Linked DNA regions of Homo sapiens: regions 1 and 3 are each linked to region 2. The links are contacts of gene promoters, found by promoter capture Hi-C in blood cells and fetal thymus (Javierre and others, 2016). All regions are on one chromosome and are shown on one strand. The core of a region is centred on a gene start or on the middle of the fragment in contact, and the rest is flanking DNA. Distances in the headings are between cores, read along the strand shown.

The links. The method cuts DNA at HindIII sites, captures the fragments that hold promoters and counts their contacts. A CHiCAGO score of 5 or more calls a contact.
Region 1: a fragment that was not itself captured here is called in contact with the fragment with the promoter of LINC00853 in region 2 in 2 of 17 cell types (erythroblasts and megakaryocytes); the score reaches 10.6 in erythroblasts.
Region 3: a contact is called between a fragment that was not itself captured here and the fragment with the promoter of LINC00853 in region 2, in 2 of 17 cell types (megakaryocytes and erythroblasts). The highest score is 10.8, in megakaryocytes.

What each region holds. Positions count from the first base shown.
Region 1 is chr1:47,279,989-47,282,688 of GRCh38, forward strand. It overlaps STIL (STIL centriolar assembly protein), which reads right to left. Exons shown (of 17, transcript NM_001048166.1): 11 at 2,357-2,471; 12 at 253-1,221. Among named protein-coding and RNA genes, the nearest start is that of STIL, 33 kb to the right of the region's middle. The HindIII fragment of the contact is 6,113 bases long and covers 1-2,700 here.
Region 2 is chr1:47,177,904-47,180,603 of GRCh38, forward strand. It overlaps LINC00853 (long intergenic non-protein coding RNA 853), which reads left to right and starts at 1,347. Exons shown (of 2, transcript NR_047498.1): 1 at 1,347-1,535; 2 at 1,965-2,436. CYP4A22-AS1 (CYP4A22 antisense RNA 1) reads right to left here and starts at 1,720. Exons shown (of 6, transcript NR_199717.1): 1 at 1,287-1,720; 2 at 222-546. RefSeq lists an enhancer at 1,218-1,719. The HindIII fragment of the contact is 3,617 bases long and covers 1-2,093 here.
Region 3 is chr1:47,302,045-47,304,744 of GRCh38, forward strand. It overlaps STIL (STIL centriolar assembly protein), which reads right to left. Exons shown (of 17, transcript NM_001048166.1): 4 at 190-302. Among named protein-coding and RNA genes, the nearest start is that of STIL, 11 kb to the right of the region's middle. The HindIII fragment of the contact is 2,245 bases long and covers 291-2,535 here.

The sequences.
Region 1 (2,700 bases), core at 28-2,527, 100 kb after region 2:
TTCTATTGTAGGTTAGGATATGCATAAGATGGTTCTACTACTAACTAGCAACGTGGCATTGGGTTAAATTATTCTCTCTAATCCTCATTTTACTTACCTGTAAAACAAGAGGGCCTAGAATTCAGTTTCCAAGGTCCCTCCTAATTCTGACATTCTATACTTCTATAAAACATCATTACTGAGGAGAGGTGCCAGTTTTTAAGAAATCTTAATACCAAGAAATTAATAGAACTAGGAAAGCACCAAGCAAACCTGTGCCTGAAGTAGTCTTAGCTGTCTGTCTTGTTCTGTGAGGAACCGATATGCATCTGGAGATAGTCCCATCATTCCATTATCTGACTCAGTCTTGGGTGTGTGCATGCACACTGTGCAAGGCTGTGGGTTACATAAGTCCATATGTGAAGGCGGTCTTGCCACAGGCGATGGTTCAATATTGCTGTGGGGAGAACAACTGCCCATATCTCCCTGAGGTCTCAAGGCTATAGGACTACTTGAAGAACAGAATGCATTACAGTACAGGGCTGGACATCCACTTGGGTGAAATAATGAATGCTTTTGAAGGGCTTCAGACTGGACATCTTGAATGGATCCAACTGTGTTTGCTCCTTGCCAAGAATTTAGCGGACTATATTGAATATGACTATGATGCTGACAACACCTGCAAACGTTTGTGGAACAGTAAGATGGCAGTGGGGGAGTAGGTATCTGAAGTTCCATTGGTCTTCCTGAATTATGGGGTGAAAAAACAAAATCGTGTGGTTGGGACTGCGGGGCAAGAGAAGACTGCCTAGAATTAAGTGTGGAGGGTCTTATAGGATACTCTTCGTTTTGTACATTTCCAGCAGAAACTGTTTGGAGCTTTTCAAATATATCATGAGATGGCCCATTATGAGAAGATGGTTTAATACTGTTCCTGGTATGGGGGTTCCCTTTCTTATAGGCAGGTGGCTGTCTTACTTTGCAGTGTCTCAAAAGAGCTGGTTTATCCTGGTTTAACTGATTTGGTATTCCTCTCAAGGAAGGCTCTCCAGCTTCAACTTCTGGACTGTGTTTCTCATCATAAAGCTGGGGTTGCAATGGCTTCAAGTGTTCCAAGTGGTTAATCAAAGGAGGATTTTCATTATTCACCATTTCCAATGGAGTAGGCAGAGGGTTTGATTCTATGAAATTGCCATCCAACACAAGTGAAAGTTCAGGAACTGATGGTTGGATCTTAGAAATCTACAAATAAGAAAGAAATAGAAAAAAAAAGTATTTTTTTGGAGAAACTGTATACTTTACTTTCCTCAGACCAGTATTTCCCAAATTATATCTAATTACATATTAACAAGTGTTCATTCTTTATTTAGACCATCAGTTAATTTTTTCTGGGCATGTTTTATGTGCTAAGCACTAGGAATGCAATTGTAAGCTAAATAAACAAGGTCCTTGCCCTAAAAGAATAAAACTAAACACTTCCCAAACTTATTTAATAATGGAACTCTTTTTATTAAAACACTAACACTGCTAAGATCACAGAACACAATATGAGAAACTGTTTTATATAACTTTTTAAATCCTCTCTGCAAAAAATAAAATTGTCACAAGCAGAATGTTTTCACAGATCTAGTAGCAAATGTTTATGTACCTTAAATAGTAAAATCTTCCAATAAATGTTTCAAAATATTTCTCCACTAAGAAGTCACTCACTGTTATTCCTTCTATTGATATCAACTAAGAGGTGGAAAGCAAAAAAGAGTAAACAAAATACTCGCTGTGATGAATTTGGTTATAATTTGATATTAGCTTTAAAAAATCCTTCCCATTCCTTTTTCTTCTAAAATAAGAATTAAACAATTCTAAAATGACCCACAGGTTGGTAGCAATAAAAAAATTATGACAAGAATTTTAGCAATTAACCTCTGAAAGCAAGTATAATGTTTTCTCAGAATATAGTGATAAAAACCAATGTCAAGCTCTAGTGATAGTATATAATGTTGAGTCTATATGGTTATTAAAAGTACCAGATTCTAAAACCAAACCTCCTGAAATAGAATCCCAGCTTTACTACTTACTAGTTGTGTGTCTTGGGTAGGTAACTTAACCAATCTATGTCTCAGTTTACTCTAGGAATAACCATACATGCTTATTACATAGATATTACACATATGTATATATCATTACATATAATATGAATTATTATATATAACTGTGAAATACTTATATCTCTATATATAGATATAACCATAGAGATAGAAATAGCTAGATATATCTAAGAATGATACTTAGGTTTCAGGTAGTATTATTTAGTGTTTTAACCATGAAGAGACTTAGGTCTCTAACCACAAAAGTGAATGCATTTTAAAATCAGTGATACCTTCTGACTCACTGGATGAGGACTAGGAATTGGTCTTGGAGAAAAATCTTCATCTTCAACACCAGAGTCGTGATCATGTATTGGCATCTTCCCAGAAGATAACTTTTGGGAAGACCTAAAGAATAGAAGGGGAGACCAGAAAAGCCTTTGGTAATCCAGTGTTTTCTTTCTTCTAGAAATTGAATAAAGTCCTTTAATAAGTTGCAGTAGTACTCAGATCATTTAATTTAGTATCTGACAACCACAAATTATTTTATTTTTCAGGCCAGTGTTAGTTGACCAGGGAAGCTGGACCAGCCAGCCTTAATAAACTACCCTATTTACCTGATGATAGCAAGTTTAAC
Region 2 (2,700 bases), core at 97-2,596:
TAGCCTGGAACTTAAAATAAAATTAAATTAAAATTAAAAAGAAAACAGCACCACCACCATCAAGGAAAGCCTGTTCCCAACCTCCAATTCCAGCTCACTAGCTCAGCCTGTCTCATTCCCCTTTTTCTCTCTCCCCTCTCCTCCCTGCCCCTTTCCTCACTTTGCCCCCACCTGTCCTCACCATCCCACCCCATACCTCCAAGCTCACAGCTAGAACTGACCAAAGGCCCAGTTATTTATTTACAAAGTCCATGTCCAGAACTGTACCAGCCTCAGCGGTGTGGAATAAACTGGTGTGGCCAGGTCCATTGTGCTGATGCCTCAAGAGATCCAGGCTGGTACAGATGGGTCTGGCACATTCTGTACCTGCCAGCCAAGCAGAGCATCCAGCTTACTTCTCACTCGACTCCTTACATAACGCTCGTCGGGTACTCTCCATTCCTTGGGCTTAAATTCCATAGTGTAATATTAGTAAACCAGGCTAAATGATCCTAAGGATCTTGCTAGCTCTGACGCACCGTGATCTTGCATCCAATTCAGTTCACTCTGTAATAAATAATCATAATAACAATAGTAATTTTCCAAATAGCTAACAGTTATTGTGTACTGTATGCTAAGCACTATTCTATGTATTTCATGTGAATGTTTAACATTCATAACACCACTTATCATGTAGACATCATTTACTGCCCTAATTTACAGTGAACTGGAGCTCCGAGAGTCACGTTGATTTAACCACAGTCCCAGGCTACCAAGTGTCCAAGCTGTGCTGCTTCCAAGCTGCCTGACCCAGACCTGAGCTCTTAACCTCTCAATGGGCATCCAGGTCGAAAGCAGAATCTCTGGCTCAAGTGCCGACTGCCCAGCTGTTTCAGAACTCCACCATGCACCCAACTGCTCCTCCAGGACTTCCCTACGGATGTGTTGCAGGCTCTGAAACGTCACACATCCACGCCGCATCCTCATCCCACACATGCTCCTGCTTGTCCCTGGCATCTGCCATTCTCAGTGCCATTCACTAGCCTATATGATGCCTTCGAATCAGAGGAAGTTACCTCTCCCTCCAGGGATACGGGCCCACACCTGGTCTCAGGGACCCTTTAGTGGAGGCACAGTCTATATAGCCCAGAGCAGTGCCCCTGATGCCATCGTCTTCCAATTTGCTCAGAGCAGACACTGGGATTCATCCTTAATATCTCTCTCTTCTCTCTCTCTCTCTCTCTCTCTCTCTCGCGGAGGCCCCACTGCCCTTGCATTCCACAGGAAGTCCCAGTTGCTGGCATGACCTGAGAGGTTCCTGGGACCACGCCATGGAAATGCGTCCGGTCCCAGTGTGACGGGGAAGAGCCGCGCCTGAAGCTCAACTTCCGAGGCTCTCATCAATCTACGCTTCCTTTGGAGCGTGCAGCCACCAGGTGGCAGCCGAGGCCACGGGCAGACAGAAAAGCTCCCGAAACTGAAGGACTGCCAGGCAGCAGAGTTCCGGAGGGCTCCCAGGACCTTCAACCAGAAAGAGACAGAGCATATGCGCATATGTATGTCTGAGCCCGTGCACGGAGGAGGAGTATGAACAGACACCGCGGGACAGATGGCTGGAGTTTAGTCCCTTCCTTCGGGGCTCTTCACCACTCCTTGGGCTTCCCTTCTCCTGTCCAGCCCTGTCCTGGGTGCACAGAGAGGGAAGTCACTCCATTCCTGCCCTTGAGGAGCTCCCAGACCCAGGGCAGGAGCAGGATGCAGACAAGTAGACAGCACCCTGGGGTGGGTGGAGTGAGTGGGGCAGGTGGGGCGGGTGCAAAGAGAGGGAGGAGCAGGGGCTGAAGTTGCCCGGAGGAAGTGCTGAACCCAGGAGTGGGGAAAGGAGCATCTGGGAAGAAATGGCATCTACGCTGATCATGGAGGGCTTTCTGGCAAGTCTCAGGAGCAATAATAACACGGATGTCATCTCTGTTTCCTCCCAGCAGCCCTGCAAGGAATGTACTATAGAGCCAATTTTACCGGCAAAGGAATGGAAGATCTGAAAGGCTAGGCGATCCCACAAGCATCGAGGAGCAGGCTGGAATTTGAACCAATCGGCATGATTCCCAAGCTCAAGCTTTTGGCCACCCCTGCACTGCCAGGGACAAAAAAAAAAAAAAAAAAAAACCCTGGGAGGAGAGCCAAGCTAGGGAGTCAAGACCCTCCAGCCAGGTCTGGATGGGAGGCAGGTGCCTCCACCCTGGTCCCAGAGCAAGTTCTGCTGGCTTCAGCCACCTGACTTCCCTGTGAAGGTGGGTAGAGGCCAGAGCAGACTGTGTGTGATTCTGGCCCCAGCCCCAGCACCTCTACCCCCACCTTTACTACCCCTAGGCTGCGGGAAGAGGCTTTGCCCAGCAATAGTCCTGATCTAATGGATCCTTGAAGCACAATAAACAGATAGTATTTCTGCATGTGTCACTCTGAGTATGACGGCAGTAATCTTGAAACTCCCCTTGACCACCTGGCACTCTGGAGACGGAACTCCACAGCCTGTTTTCAAAGCCAACTCCTGGCTGGAAGTTCCTCTTCAAGTCTAAATGAAGTAAGCAGTGCTGCAGTCTTCCCTCAACTGTGCAGTTGCTGGGTGGAGGCTTTTCTTTTCTGCCTGAGTTTGGGTATAACCTATAATGTAACCCTATGAAACTTACATGTTTTAGGTGGGAGAGGGGAAAACAAGGTGCA
Region 3 (2,700 bases), core at 163-2,662, 120 kb after region 2:
GGCCGAATCAATAAATTCTATTGCAGTCATACAAGTAATTTAAAAAAATGTTTTCTTGTACTGATGGAGTCTTACTATGTTATGCAAGCTGGTCTTAAACTCCTAGGTTCAAGTGATCCTCCCACTCCAGCCTCCCAACGTGCTGGGATTACAGGCGTGAGCACTGGTCCATTTTTAAAAGTGTATTACCTTCGTCTGCTGTCAGAGAACCAAGTAAAAAGCATGACGAATTTTTTTTATTCTGCTTAGCATGACGATAAGCAAGTCGGATGGTCTTCTCAGTCACCACAAGCTTTGGATTTCTGAAAAACAACAAGTCTTTTATGAATATGGTAGACCTCATATCTTAAAAAAACCTCCTGCCATAAAATGCTGTCTAAATTATAACACACATTTTTAAAAATGTACAGAAAGATCATTGTCAGGAAATCCCAGGGTCAAAGGCAGGGGATACGGAGGGCCACTTGGAAACTAGAATGGCAATAAACAGACACTGAAACTATAGTTGTTCTCCAGGCATTTTGTTAACTTTATGAACCTCAGCAGGTAGGTCTCCTGTTTTTGTAAGTAAATTTTGATTGAAACAGTCACATCTGTTTCTTTACATACTGTGTATGGGCTTCAGATATAATCAGCATTACAGTAGTGCCCCCTTATCTCTGGGAGACATGTTCCAGACCCCCAGTGGATGTCTGAAACCACAGATAGTAACAAATCCTATATATACTATGTTTCTTCCTATACATACGTATCTATGATAAAGTTTAATTTATAAATTAGGCACAGTAAATGATTAACAACAATAATTAATAGTAGCATAATTTTAACAGTATACTGTAAAAAAGTTGTGTGAATATGGTCTGTCTCTCAAAATACCTTATTGTATTATACTGTGGGTAACTGAAACCATGGAAAGTGAAACCATGCATAAAGGGGGGAAACTACTGTATTGAATACAAAATATAGTATGATTTAAATGCTTTAAAAAATGTAAAAGGAAAACCAAAATATAAGCCAGGAATAAGATACTACGAAAAAAGACCAGGCAAATTTGAATAAAAAAGCCATACAGAACTTAAAGAAATAAAAAATATAATTTGCAAAAATTCAATAAGTTATATAATTAACTGGGGATAGGTACACAAATGTGTATTGTTATTCTATTAACTATGCATATATACTATAAGTATCCTCTCATATATATGGTACACCGCCACGTTTTAAAAAACCTAAATGAGGGCCAGGCGTGGTGGCACATGCCTGTAATCCCAGCACTTTGGGAGGATGAGGCAGGTGGATCACCTGAGGTCAGGAGTTCGTGACCAGCCTGACTAACATGGTGAAACCCCATCTCTACCAAATACAAAAAAATTAGCCAGGCGTGGTGGCACATGTCTGTAATTCGAGCTACTTGGGAGGCTGAGACAGGAGAATCGCTTGTACATGGGAGGCGGAGGTTGCAGTGAGCCAACATCACGCCACTGCACTCCAGCCTGGACAACAACAGCAAAACTCCTCTCAAAAAAAACAACCAAACTTAAATGAATAGGTTAGATGGCAGCTAAGCACAGCTAAAGAGAAAATAAGCAGACTTGAAAAACAAAGGAAACTACTCAAAATGTACAGAAAGACAACAATAAAAAAAATAAAAACAGGACTAACCATTATTTAGTTGAACTTCCATAAGACTCTCCCTATTTTTGTCAATGGTACCACCCTTCTCTGCCAACTAGTGTTGAACCCGAATACTTTCTTTCTTGTATCTTTCCTTCAGTTCCTCTATTCAGTCAATCATCAAATACTACAAATTATTTATTCAAAACACCTTGTTTCATTCTTTCCTCTTGATCTGAATACTGCTACATTGCTCTAAGTCCTTATAATGTATAATAGATGCCATTTATGAAATACTTTCTATTCCAGGCACTGTGACAATTGCTTTACAGAGTCTTATTTAACCCCTACAAGAGAACTGTGAAACTGGTATTATTATAGTCATTTTATAAATAAGGAAACTGATCCTTGGCTACTTTACTGAGGTTGCATAAATAAGTACTAGAATCAGGATTTGATTCCCTAGGCAGTCTGCTCCAATTATTGCACCGTTTTTTTTTCCTTATTTTGTTTTTTTTTTTACTTTTTATTTTAATTTTTTATTGAGACAAGGTCTCACTTTGTTGCCCAGGCTGGTTTCAAACTCCTGACTTCAAGCAATCCTCCTGCCTCAACCTCCCAAAGTGCTGGGGTTACAGGTGTGAGCCACTGCACCCAGCCCAGTTATAGCACCTTAAACCATTACAATATACACCTGTGTGATTACAGAAAAGCATCTTGAAGCTAGGCTGACTCAAGGCTCTCCCCGCCATAATCTATCCTTCTTAGAATACTACTTTTAACAAGTAACTCTTATGTACAAAACCTCAATAGATCTATTTTCTATTACTTTACACCTAAACTTTCTTGTCTGTCAAGGTCCTAGATGTAACTACAAGATTTTATATTCCTTCTAATCTGATCCACTCAAAAATTGGTTCAAGCTTCTCAACGTTCCACAAAGACACCATGCTGACATAATAAAAAACACTTTCAGTTTTTACTATATTTCACCTCTTTTGAATTCCTACAATATGCAGAATTTGCAGAAAACTGGGAAGATAAGATTATCTCTCAAAAGTACAAGGAACAGATGTTAAGAAGCAG